Linked DNA regions of Homo sapiens: all the other regions are linked to region 1. Evidence: promoter capture Hi-C in 16 types of primary human blood cells and fetal thymus (Javierre and others, 2016). All regions are on one chromosome and are shown on one strand. The core of a region is centred on a gene start or on the middle of the fragment in contact, and the rest is flanking DNA. Distances in the headings are between cores, read along the strand shown. Region 1 holds the start of SLC25A5 (solute carrier family 25 member 5). Region 2 has its middle 3.4 kb from the start of SOWAHD. Region 3 overlaps UPF3B (UPF3B regulator of nonsense mediated mRNA decay).

Region 1 (3,275 bases), core at 776-3,275:
AAGACTGAGAAGGGAAAAATTCTATGTAATTATTTGATCATCTTTTTTTGTGGAGAGAAAAAAAACTGACAAAACAATGAGCTCTGGAATAGAATACAGTAGAGGCATCATGCTCAAAGAGAGTAGCAGATGTGGCCAGGGAAAGGTCACATGTAGAAAAGGGATACACAAGTGATGGCGAGGTGTATCGAGGAATAATTAACAGTTGAATAAAAATGCATTAATCAGAATGTCAAGAGTTCAAACTAGAAAGATTTTGAATTTTAAATGCATTATAAATAAAATCCACCTCTCTCCAAATAAAGCCCTCTGTAGAATTTTGCTTTAGCTCTTGTTTCTCTCACCAGAATAGAGAAGCGAGTATCACCTTTGGAGGATATACTCTACCATTCTCTGAAACTGTTTTTTTGCATTCAGCTACCTCGCTATTATAATCAGCTGAGAAACACCATAGCCTTTCACTAACACAGGTCAAAGATTTCTCCCAGGATCAACAAAGCTAGATTCAAAATTGCTCCTTTGAACACATGCAATTTGTGTGCATCAGTTTCGATCGCTGGGGTTCTTGAGGAGACTAACAAATTGCAAAGTGTACTTTCAGAGGAAGGGCCTAACCATCCTGGGGGGTCCTAGAATTGGGTCCTTTCACAGGCAGATCTGGAGAAGATAGGAGAGGGCAGGAAAGGAAAGTGAAGGATATGAACACTATGTGTTCAGTGTGCAAAGGCCTGCTGGCATTTTGCCTATGGGAATTCTGAAGTCTGGGCACATAAGGTTCAGCTGCAGTTGCAGTTTTCAACAGTCGTCCTTATTTTTATAAACATTGTTATGATTATTCAGACACGGAACTTGTGATTACACTATTTGCTCCTGTTCTGAACTTGAGGGAGTCCACTTAAGCTAACAAGTAGGTTTTTGAGGACATGTGTGGCAAATGCTTACCCAGTGAAGGGATTAAGGGGCTCAGTAAGCACTTGTCCATTGGCACAATGGCTGCCAATCTAATTCTATTGATTCCTCTAAATGTTTCTGGAGTTCAGAAATCTATTCAATCCAAGGGCACTTTACCTGGGGTCCTGGGAGCCAAATGTTAACGTAGTTCTTAACCTTCCTAAGCCTCTTAACCTTCTGGGTACAACCTCTATATTTGTCTTCTGGCTAAAATCATTTCCCCACCCCCAGCCCAGTCCTTTGGACTCTCCCAGGCCAATTCCTGGCAAGATCTTTGTCGAACTGTATTTGCAAACCAGGGTCTGGGGCACGGTGGCAGTTCCTTCGTCTGCTGTTCCCTTAATTTCGTCTGGTTTCACTGGCTCCAGGACAGCACACGGTCTAGAGTGGGAAGAGTGAGGCATTCACCTTGGTGAAAAACAACTCAGTAATTAAGACAAATGATTTTTCATGTACTATTTTAAAAAAATCAGAAGCAATGCAAAAATCCATGATGAACAAATGATCAACATTTGAAATACAGACAGGATCCCAACCTGCACTTGCATGACCTTGTCTCGCTTGCCTCACCCTAAACCCAGCCTTGACACTCCAATTAAACTTTATTTACAAAACAAGGGGGCCGGCCAGTAGGATGTAGTTTGCCCATACGACTTTTTTAAAGTATCGCATTGACTACTGTTTATCTCGATGACTGAAGGGTTCTTTTGGCATCCCTGTAGCAAATGCGTCTCACCCTAGTCCTGGTCCTGCTCCAAGGGTTTTTGTCCAGGCACATCGTGACCTCACCCTTCCTCCCCTCTCCGAGGCCTCTCTCAGGGTCCAGCGTTCAAGTCCCGGGTGTTCTCTGGACCCGCCCCTTCCTCTCGCCGGGTCAGGTGCCGAGGGCGAGCACGGGCGGCGCGGAGAGCAGTCCCGGCCCGCCCTCCACGACTCCTCCTCCTGCGAGCTGGGCCACTCAGCGGCTCTGCCGCCCAGCGCGCCGGGGCCCAGACCCCGCCCCGGCCCCGCCTCCGACGCCTGCCGCTCCAGCTCCGGCTCCCCCTATATAAATCGGCCATTTGCTTCGCTCCGCCCCGCAGCGCCGGAGTCAAAGCCGGTTCCCGGCCCAGTCCCGTCCTGCAGCAGTCTGCCTCCTCTTTCAACATGACAGATGCCGCTGTGTCCTTCGCCAAGGACTTCCTGGCAGGTGGAGTGGCCGCAGCCATCTCCAAGACGGCGGTAGCGCCCATCGAGCGGGTCAAGCTGCTGCTGCAGGTACGTCCTGGGATCCAGGAGCCCAACCAGGAAGTGGGGGGAAGGGTCGCACAGAAGGCGGGCGCCCGAGGGGTGGCGGGGAGCGAACTCTAAAGACATGGCCAGGGAAGCGGCTTAGGAGAGGCCAGAGCGGGGCGCAGAGGCAGAACAGAAGTCAAACTGGTGGGAGGCGCCTTTAGTGACCTGAAGTAGTGAGTCTAGGAAGGGGCCGGGGGCAGAGGGCAGGACCAGGCTCTCGGCATCTCCGAGGCGGCGGACTCGGATGGAGCAGTTTCTGAGTGACGGCCTCCCCGGGCCTGGGCGTCAAGGGCGAAGGCCGAAAGCCGGCGTTAGAAAGAGGAACGCCAGTTCTTACCGAAGACCTCAAGGTCGCGGCAAGGAGATAACTGCCCGGGGGAGGCCATGCGCCCGGGTCCAGCGGCCTCCCAGCCCGCGGACGCGCTCAAACCTCGCCGGGCCGGAAGCCGGCGCCGGGAAGCGCGTGTGCCTTTTACGTCCGCCCCCGCGCAGCCGCGGCCGCTGCCGCCGCGTCTCCGCCTGCCTCCCTGCGCCGCGCGCTCTCCAGTGCCGGCTCTAGAGGGCGCTCCTGGGCTAGCGTGTAGGGCTGGCGGCGGCGGCGCTCGGGTCACCTCTGGGAGCGGAGTGGGGGCGGAGCGAGACGGAAGCAGCTCAGGAGACTTGAGGCGTAGGCTGCGGTCCCCAAGGTGACCGCGCCCTATGTGGGACTCGCCCTAATGCCTCTGAACCTGGGTTTGAGGTAATGACCTTTCTCCTAGGTCTGAAGGTCACGGGTCCGCTGGAGGATGCCCCCTCTCCACTCAGAGGGGTGGAGGCTTAATGCTACTGGTGCAGATCACCTCTTCCCCTGTGACAGCCTCAGAGGGTTGGGAGGGTCCAGCCAGTATGATATACGAAGACTAGATTTGAGAGAGGGGAGCCTACCTTAAAGGGCATTGATCGAGATGGCATAAGCTCTTCTCTTTCCCTTCCCCATGGTTATAACTGTCCCTGTTGGCTTCCTTCCTGTCTGTTAGGTGCAGCATGCCAGCAAGCAGATCACTGCAGAT
Region 2 (3,121 bases), core at 381-2,880, 290 kb after region 1:
CCTCAGGCACCAGCCTCATCCTAGAAGAGTTGTCATATAGGGGCCTTGGGTTGGGGGTAAAAGGCAAAAGTTTCCAAATTTACATTTCTGATATTTCCACGGTCAGTCATGTAATTTACCTTGATTTGTGGCCTCTAATGAGACACACCCACGGGCACTTTTTTTTTTCCAAGATGGGGCTTTCCTCAGTAGCATTTATTTATTTATTTTTGAAATGGAGTCTCACTCTGTCACCCAGACTGGAGTGCAGTGGCGCAATCTTGACTCATCGCAACCTCTGCCTCCCGGGTTCAAGCAATTCTCCTGCCTCAGCCTCCCAAATAGCTACAGGCACCCGCCACCACGCCCGGCTGATTTTTTTTTTTTTTTTTTTTTTTTGGTATTTTTAGTAGAGACGGGGTTTCACTATGTTGGCTGGGCTGGTCTCGAACTCCTGACCTAGTGATCCGCCTGCCTCAGCCTCCCAAAGTGCTGGGATTACAGGCATGAGCCACCACGCCCAGCCAGCAGCATTTATTTATTATTACTGTTTTTTGAGACAGAGTCTCACTCTGTCGCCCAGGCTGGAGTGCAATGGCGTGATCTAGGCTCACTGCAACCTCTGCCTCCTGGGTTCAAGCGATTCTCCTACCTCAGCCTCCCAAGTAGCTGGGATTACAGACGTGCACCACCACGCCTGGCTAATTTTTGTATTTGTAGTAATGATGGGGTTTCGCCATGTTGGTCAGGCTGGTCTCGAACTCCTAACCTCAAGTGTTCCCCTGCCTCAGCCTCCCAAAGTGCTGGGATTACAGACACGAGCCACCACACCTGCTCAGCAGCATTTAAAAAATTAAGTTTAAGGCTGGGTGTGGTGGCTCACAGCTGTAATCCCAGCACTTTGGGAGGTTGAGGCAGGAGGATCCCTTGGGCCCAGGAGTTCTAGACCAGCCTGGGCAATATAGGGAGACCCTGTCTCTACAAAAATATACAAAAATTAGCCAGTTGTAGTGGTGCAGGCCTGTAGTCCCAGCTACTAGAGAAGCTGAGGTGGGAGGATTGCTTGAGCCTGGGAGGTGGAGGCTGCAGTGAGTAAAGCATTCCACTGCACTCCAGCCTGGGTGACAGAGTGGGACCCTATCTCAATAAATATATATATTTCACTTACGTAAAATTCTTTTTAAAAAGTTAAGTTTAATGCATAAATTGTAGCTTGCAAAATTGCTCCCATTCAGAAATGGCATGAATTAAATAGACTACAGGAGGGTTGACTGAGCCTGAAAGGCCAGGAAAGCAGTTGCTGGCTACAGACCCATGCTGCCTTGGAGAACAGTGCATTTTAAAAATAGCACTGTATCCCTGAAGGCTTGGGTAGCCCTTGCAATGGACTGTCGCGTTCCCCAGCCCTCTCATCCCAGTCCGTGAACACCAGCCAGAAACAGTCACCACTAACAAACAGCCCAGAAACGCCACCCTGAGCCCATCCATCCAGGTTTCCATCTCTGCCTGGTGGGCCTGTTTGCTTCTGTGCTCAAAACTTTCCTACTTTCCTTTATTTTTTATTTTTGAGATGGCGTCTCACTCTTACCCAGTCTGGAGTACCGTGGCAACGATCATAGCTCATTGCAGCCTCAAACACCTGGGCTCTGGTGAACCTCCTGCCTCAGCCTCCCAAGTAGCTGGGACTACAGGCACATGTTGCCATGCTCAGCTATTTTTTTTGTGTGTGTGTCTGTACAGACAGGGTCTCGCTATGTTGCTTAAGCTGGTCTCGAACTCCTGGGTTCAAGTCATCCTCCCACCTCAGCCTCCCAAAGTGCTGGAATTACAGATATAAGACTCTGTGCCTGGCCCACACTGCCTTCCTTTAGTAACCCATGAGGGTCTTCTCAATCATGAAATGATCCAAACCCCCTTGCTGTTTTCAGCCTGTCCCATGTCTCCAGGAGCTACACCTTAAACACACTTACACAGTGTAATAGAGCATTTCCTTTGTCTTTTCTTTCTTTCTTTCTTTCTTTCTTTTTTTTTAGATGGAGTCTTGCTCTGTTGCCCAGGCTGGAGTGCAATGGTGTGATCTCAGCTCACTGCAACCTCCGCTTCCAGGGTTCAAGTGATTCTCCCTGCCTCAGCCTCCTGAGTAGCTGGGATTACAGGCACCCACCACCACGCCCAGCTAATTTTTGTATTTTTGGTAGAGATGGGGTTTCACCATGTTGGCCAGGCTGGTCTCGAACTCCTGACCTCAGGTGATCCGCCCACCTTGGCCTCCTAAAGTGCTGGGATTACAGGCATGAGCCACCGTGCCTGGCCTTCCTTTGTCTTTTCTAAATGAACTTCTTTTCTTTAGTAATTGAAGGAGGGAGGGCTAACAGTTCCTAGATTCTGGCAGTTGGCATTGGCATCTGGCATTAACTCTCTCCACCCCGTGCCCATTTTATAGATGCGAACAGGCCAACTGATGCAGGACTGTGGTTTCTGTTCCACAACCTCCCCCTTGATAGCTGCCAAGGTGGGTTGGGCTTGGTGAAGGCTGTCAGGGCAGGGCCTTCTTGCCACTTGGCTGAGTCTGCAGGCTCCTGGCTTGCAGGGAAGATTGGTGTGTGCTGAGCATTCAAAGGACACTTATAACAGTAGTCCCCTCTTTATAGGAAAAGTTTGAACCTAAGCATCTTAACTGTTAGCAGATCTGGGGGCCTGAGACAAGCGTTCACCCTACTCTTTCCAAAACGAAAACCAAATTACCTGGAAGATTTGAAAACGGTTTTCTGTAGTTTTCCTGTAGTCAGCTACTCTTCCCCACAGATTTTTCTCATCATGTGATACTGCCTAGCCTATCTCCTCCATGTAAAATTGAGGTTTGGCTGCAGGGGACAAACTCCCATGCTGAAAACTCTCCGTGCCTCACATCAAGCCGTTGGCATTTCTGGTATGCTTTTTGAGGCAAGACTGGTATGCTTACCCCAAGAGAAAGAGCAAATTCCCCGAGAAACCTCTTTCCAGGGGAGCAAAGTGGAGTTAAGCAGATGATGCAAGACTTCATTCTAGCAGGGGAGCCGAGCAAGAAGAGGAGACAGAAGCAGGGCTGTGATGGATCAGGGGGAGGGGGTGCTGAGGGAGCGCAGGAGGCAGGGCCGGATCC
Region 3 (3,349 bases), core at 48-2,547, 380 kb after region 1:
CAACAACAAAAAACCAAATAACCCAATTTAAAAAATGGTCAAAAGACTTGAATAGACATTTCTTCAAAGATAATATACAAATGGCTAACAAGCATATGGAAATATGTTCCACATTACTAGTCATTAGGGAAATGCAAATCAAAACCACAATGAGGTATCATCTCACGCCTATTAGGAGGACTACTATCAAAAAGCAGAAAATAACAAGTGTTGGCAAAGATGTGGAGAAACTGGAACACTCATGTATTGGTGGGAATGTAAAATGATGCAGCTGCATGGAAAACAGTATGGCAGTTCCATAAAACATTAAAAATAGAATTATTGGGCCAGCCTGACTAACATGGTAAAACCCCATCTCTACTAAAAATACAAAAATTAGCTGGGTGTGGTGGTGGGCACCTGTAATCCCAGCTACTCAGGAGGCTGAGGCAGGAGAATTGCTTGAACCCAGGAGGTGGAGGTTGCAATGAGGGAAGATCGCGCCATTGTACTTACTCCAGCCTGGGCAATGAGGGCGAAATTCCATCTCAAAAAAACAAAACAAAACAAAAAAGAACTACCGGCGGGGCACAGTGGCTCACACCTGTAACCTCAGCACTTTGAGAGGCCGAGGTGGGCGCATCACTTGAGGTCAGGAGTTTGAGACCAGCCTGGCCAACATGGTGAAACTCCGTCTCTACCACAAACATAAAAAATTAGCAGGGTGTGGTGGCAGGTGTCTGTAATCCCAGATACTTGGGAGGCTGAGGCAGGAGAATTGCTTGCACCTGGGAGGTGGAGGTTGCAGTGAGCCAAGATCATGCCACTGCACTCCAGCCTGTGTGACAGAGACTCTGTCTCAAAATAAATAAATAATAAAATAAAAATAGAATTACCAAATGACTCCAGAAATTCCATTTCTCGGTATATATCCAAAAGCAGTGAGAACAAGGACTCGAATATGTGCACATCTGTGTTCATAACAATATTGTTCACAATAGCCAAGAGTGGAAGCAACTCGAATACCCCTTGACAGATGAATGGATACACAAAATGTGGTATATACATATACTGGAATATTAGTCTTAAAAATGAGGCTGGGGGCAGTGGCTCATGCCTGTAATTCCTAGCATTTTGGGAGGCTGAGGCAGGCATGTCACTTCAGGTCAGGAGTTTGAAACTAGCCTGGCCAACACAGTGAAACCCCATCTTTACCAAAAGTACAAAAAAATTAGCCAGCTGTGGTGGTGGGTACCTGTAATCCCAGCTACTTGGGAGGCTGAGGCTGGAGAATTGCTTGAACCCAGGAAGCGGAGGTTGCAGTGAGCTGAGATCGCGCCACTGCATTCCAGCCTGGGCAACAAAGTGAGACTCCATCTCAAAAAAAAAAAAAAAAAAAAAAAAGATGAAAATTCTGACACATGCTACGACATGGATACACCTTGAAGATATTATGCTAAATGAAATAAGCCAGACAGACACTGTATGTTTCCACCTATATGTGGTACCTACAGTAGTGAAACTCATACAGACACAAGGTATAATGGTGGTTGCCAGGGGCTGGAGGAAGGGAAATAAGGAGTTGTTTAATGGGTAAAGAGTTTCAGTTTTTCAAGATGAAAAAGTTCCCAAGATTGTTGCACAACAGTGTGAATATACCTTAATGCTACTGAACTGTACACTTAAAATGGTTAAGATGGTAAATTTTATGTTACGTGTATTTTTACAATTTTTAAAAATGCAAAAGGAATGAGGTAATGATATATGTTATATGTTACAACATGGATGGACCTTGAAAACATTGTGCTAGGTAAAAGAAGCCAGTCAGAAAAGACCACATATTGTATGATTACATTTATATGAAATGGAGGGAAATCATAGATACATAAAGTAGATTAGTGGTTGCCAGGGGCTGGAGGGAGAGAATGGGAGGTAACTACTAATAGATATGGGTTTCTTTTTGGAGGGATGAAAACATTCTGGAATTAGTACTGATGGTTGTACTACCTTGTGAATATACCAGAAACCACTGAATTGTACGCTTTAAGAGGATGAATTTTATTATAGGTGAGTTATATTTCAATACAAAAACCCCAAGTGACTAATGGGAAAAAAATTCACAAGCACCCTGTCACAGAATGTCAAAAACAAGGTATCCTATCCTTAAATCATTGGCATGTAGACATAAGCAGAAAAATAAAAATAAACAGAATTGACCAGAAGGCACTGCAAAGCAGTCATGGAGGAAAAATTATGTTGGGAATCCCAGTGAGTAGAGAATCAGATTAGCTTCAAAACTGTGATATATTAGGCCAGGCATGGTGGCTCACGCCTGTAATCCCAGCACTTTGGGAGGCTGAGGCGGGTGGATTGCTTGAGGCCAGGAGTTTGAGACCAGCCTGGCCAACATGGTGAAACCCCATCTCCTAAAATTACAAAAATTAGCTGGGCGTGGCGGCACACACCTGTAATCCCAGCTAAGTCGGCAGGCTGAGGAACGAGAATTGCTTGAACCCAGGAGGCGGAGGTTGTAATGAGCCAAGATTGTGCCACTGTACTCCAGCCTGGGCGACAGAGTTAAGACTCTGTCTCAAAAAAAAAAAGAGAGAGAGAGAGAAGAAAAAGAAAAAAAACAAAAATAAAAACCAAAAAACAAAACTGTGATATATTTGAGAAGGAATAGATAAACCAGACTGAAACAGAGGGAAATTGTGGAAGACAGGCTGAAGAAACAGAAGTGAGGCCAGAATATGGAGGACCCTGACTACCAGGCTAAGGAGTTTGGACTTTTTCCCCCAACTGTTAATTTAAATCATTATTTTCAAAAAGATTAATTTCATGGCAATATAATAGACTGAATTATACAAGAATGAAAAAAATGGAAAATCCTGTAAGTTTAGAGACAGTGGTTGTCTAGGCATTAAGTGATGAGGACATAAAGTGTGACTGTTTAAGGCTAGGTGAACAAGATATTAAAAAAAAACAATAAAATCCAGCCTGGGCAACATAAGCAGACCTTGTCTCTAAGATTTAAAAACAAAACAAAACAAACAAACAAACAAAAAACACAATGAGGAAAGGATAGTCTCTTTAATAAGTGGTGTTGAGCTGGGTATGGTGGCTCGCACCTGTAATCCCAGCACTTTGGGAGGCTGAGGTGGGGGGGGGGAAATCACTTGAGCCCAGGAGTTCAAGACCAGCCTGGGCAACGTAGTGAGACCCCATCTCTATAAAAAATTTAAAGAAAATTAGCCAGGCATGGTGACATACATCTGTAGTCCCAGCTACTCAGGAGGCTGAGGTGGGAGGATTGCTTGAGTCCAGGAATTCCAGGCTGCAGTGAGCTCTGATTGCGCCACAGCACTCCAGC

What was found. The method cuts DNA at HindIII sites, captures the fragments that hold promoters and counts their contacts. A CHiCAGO score of 5 or more calls a contact.
Region 2: a contact is called between a fragment that was not itself captured here and the fragment with the promoter of SLC25A5 in region 1, in 1 of 17 cell types (fetal thymus). The highest score is 5.4, in fetal thymus.
Region 3: a contact is called between a fragment that was not itself captured here and the fragment with the promoter of SLC25A5 in region 1, in 1 of 17 cell types (neutrophils). The highest score is 5.6, in neutrophils.

What each region holds. Positions count from the first base shown.
Region 1 is chrX:119,466,419-119,469,693 of GRCh38, forward strand. It overlaps SLC25A5 (solute carrier family 25 member 5), which reads left to right and starts at 2,026. Exons shown (of 4, transcript NM_001152.5): 1 at 2,026-2,208; 2 at 3,243-3,275. The coding sequence starts at 2,098. SLC25A5-AS1 (SLC25A5 antisense RNA 1) reads right to left here and starts at 2,702. Exons shown (of 1, transcript NR_028443.1): 1 at 1-2,702. RefSeq lists silencers at 1,706-2,085, 2,576-2,815. The HindIII fragment of the contact is 10,795 bases long and covers 1-3,275 here.
Region 2 is chrX:119,760,442-119,763,562 of GRCh38, forward strand. No RefSeq gene overlaps it. Among named protein-coding and RNA genes, the nearest start is that of SOWAHD, 3.4 kb to the left of the region's middle. RefSeq lists enhancers at 8-77, 88-157. The HindIII fragment of the contact is 4,283 bases long and covers 1-3,121 here.
Region 3 is chrX:119,846,923-119,850,271 of GRCh38, forward strand. The region is part of intron 3 of UPF3B (UPF3B regulator of nonsense mediated mRNA decay); the gene reads right to left. Among named protein-coding and RNA genes, the nearest start is that of UPF3B, 4.4 kb to the right of the region's middle. The HindIII fragment of the contact is 6,337 bases long and covers 1-3,349 here.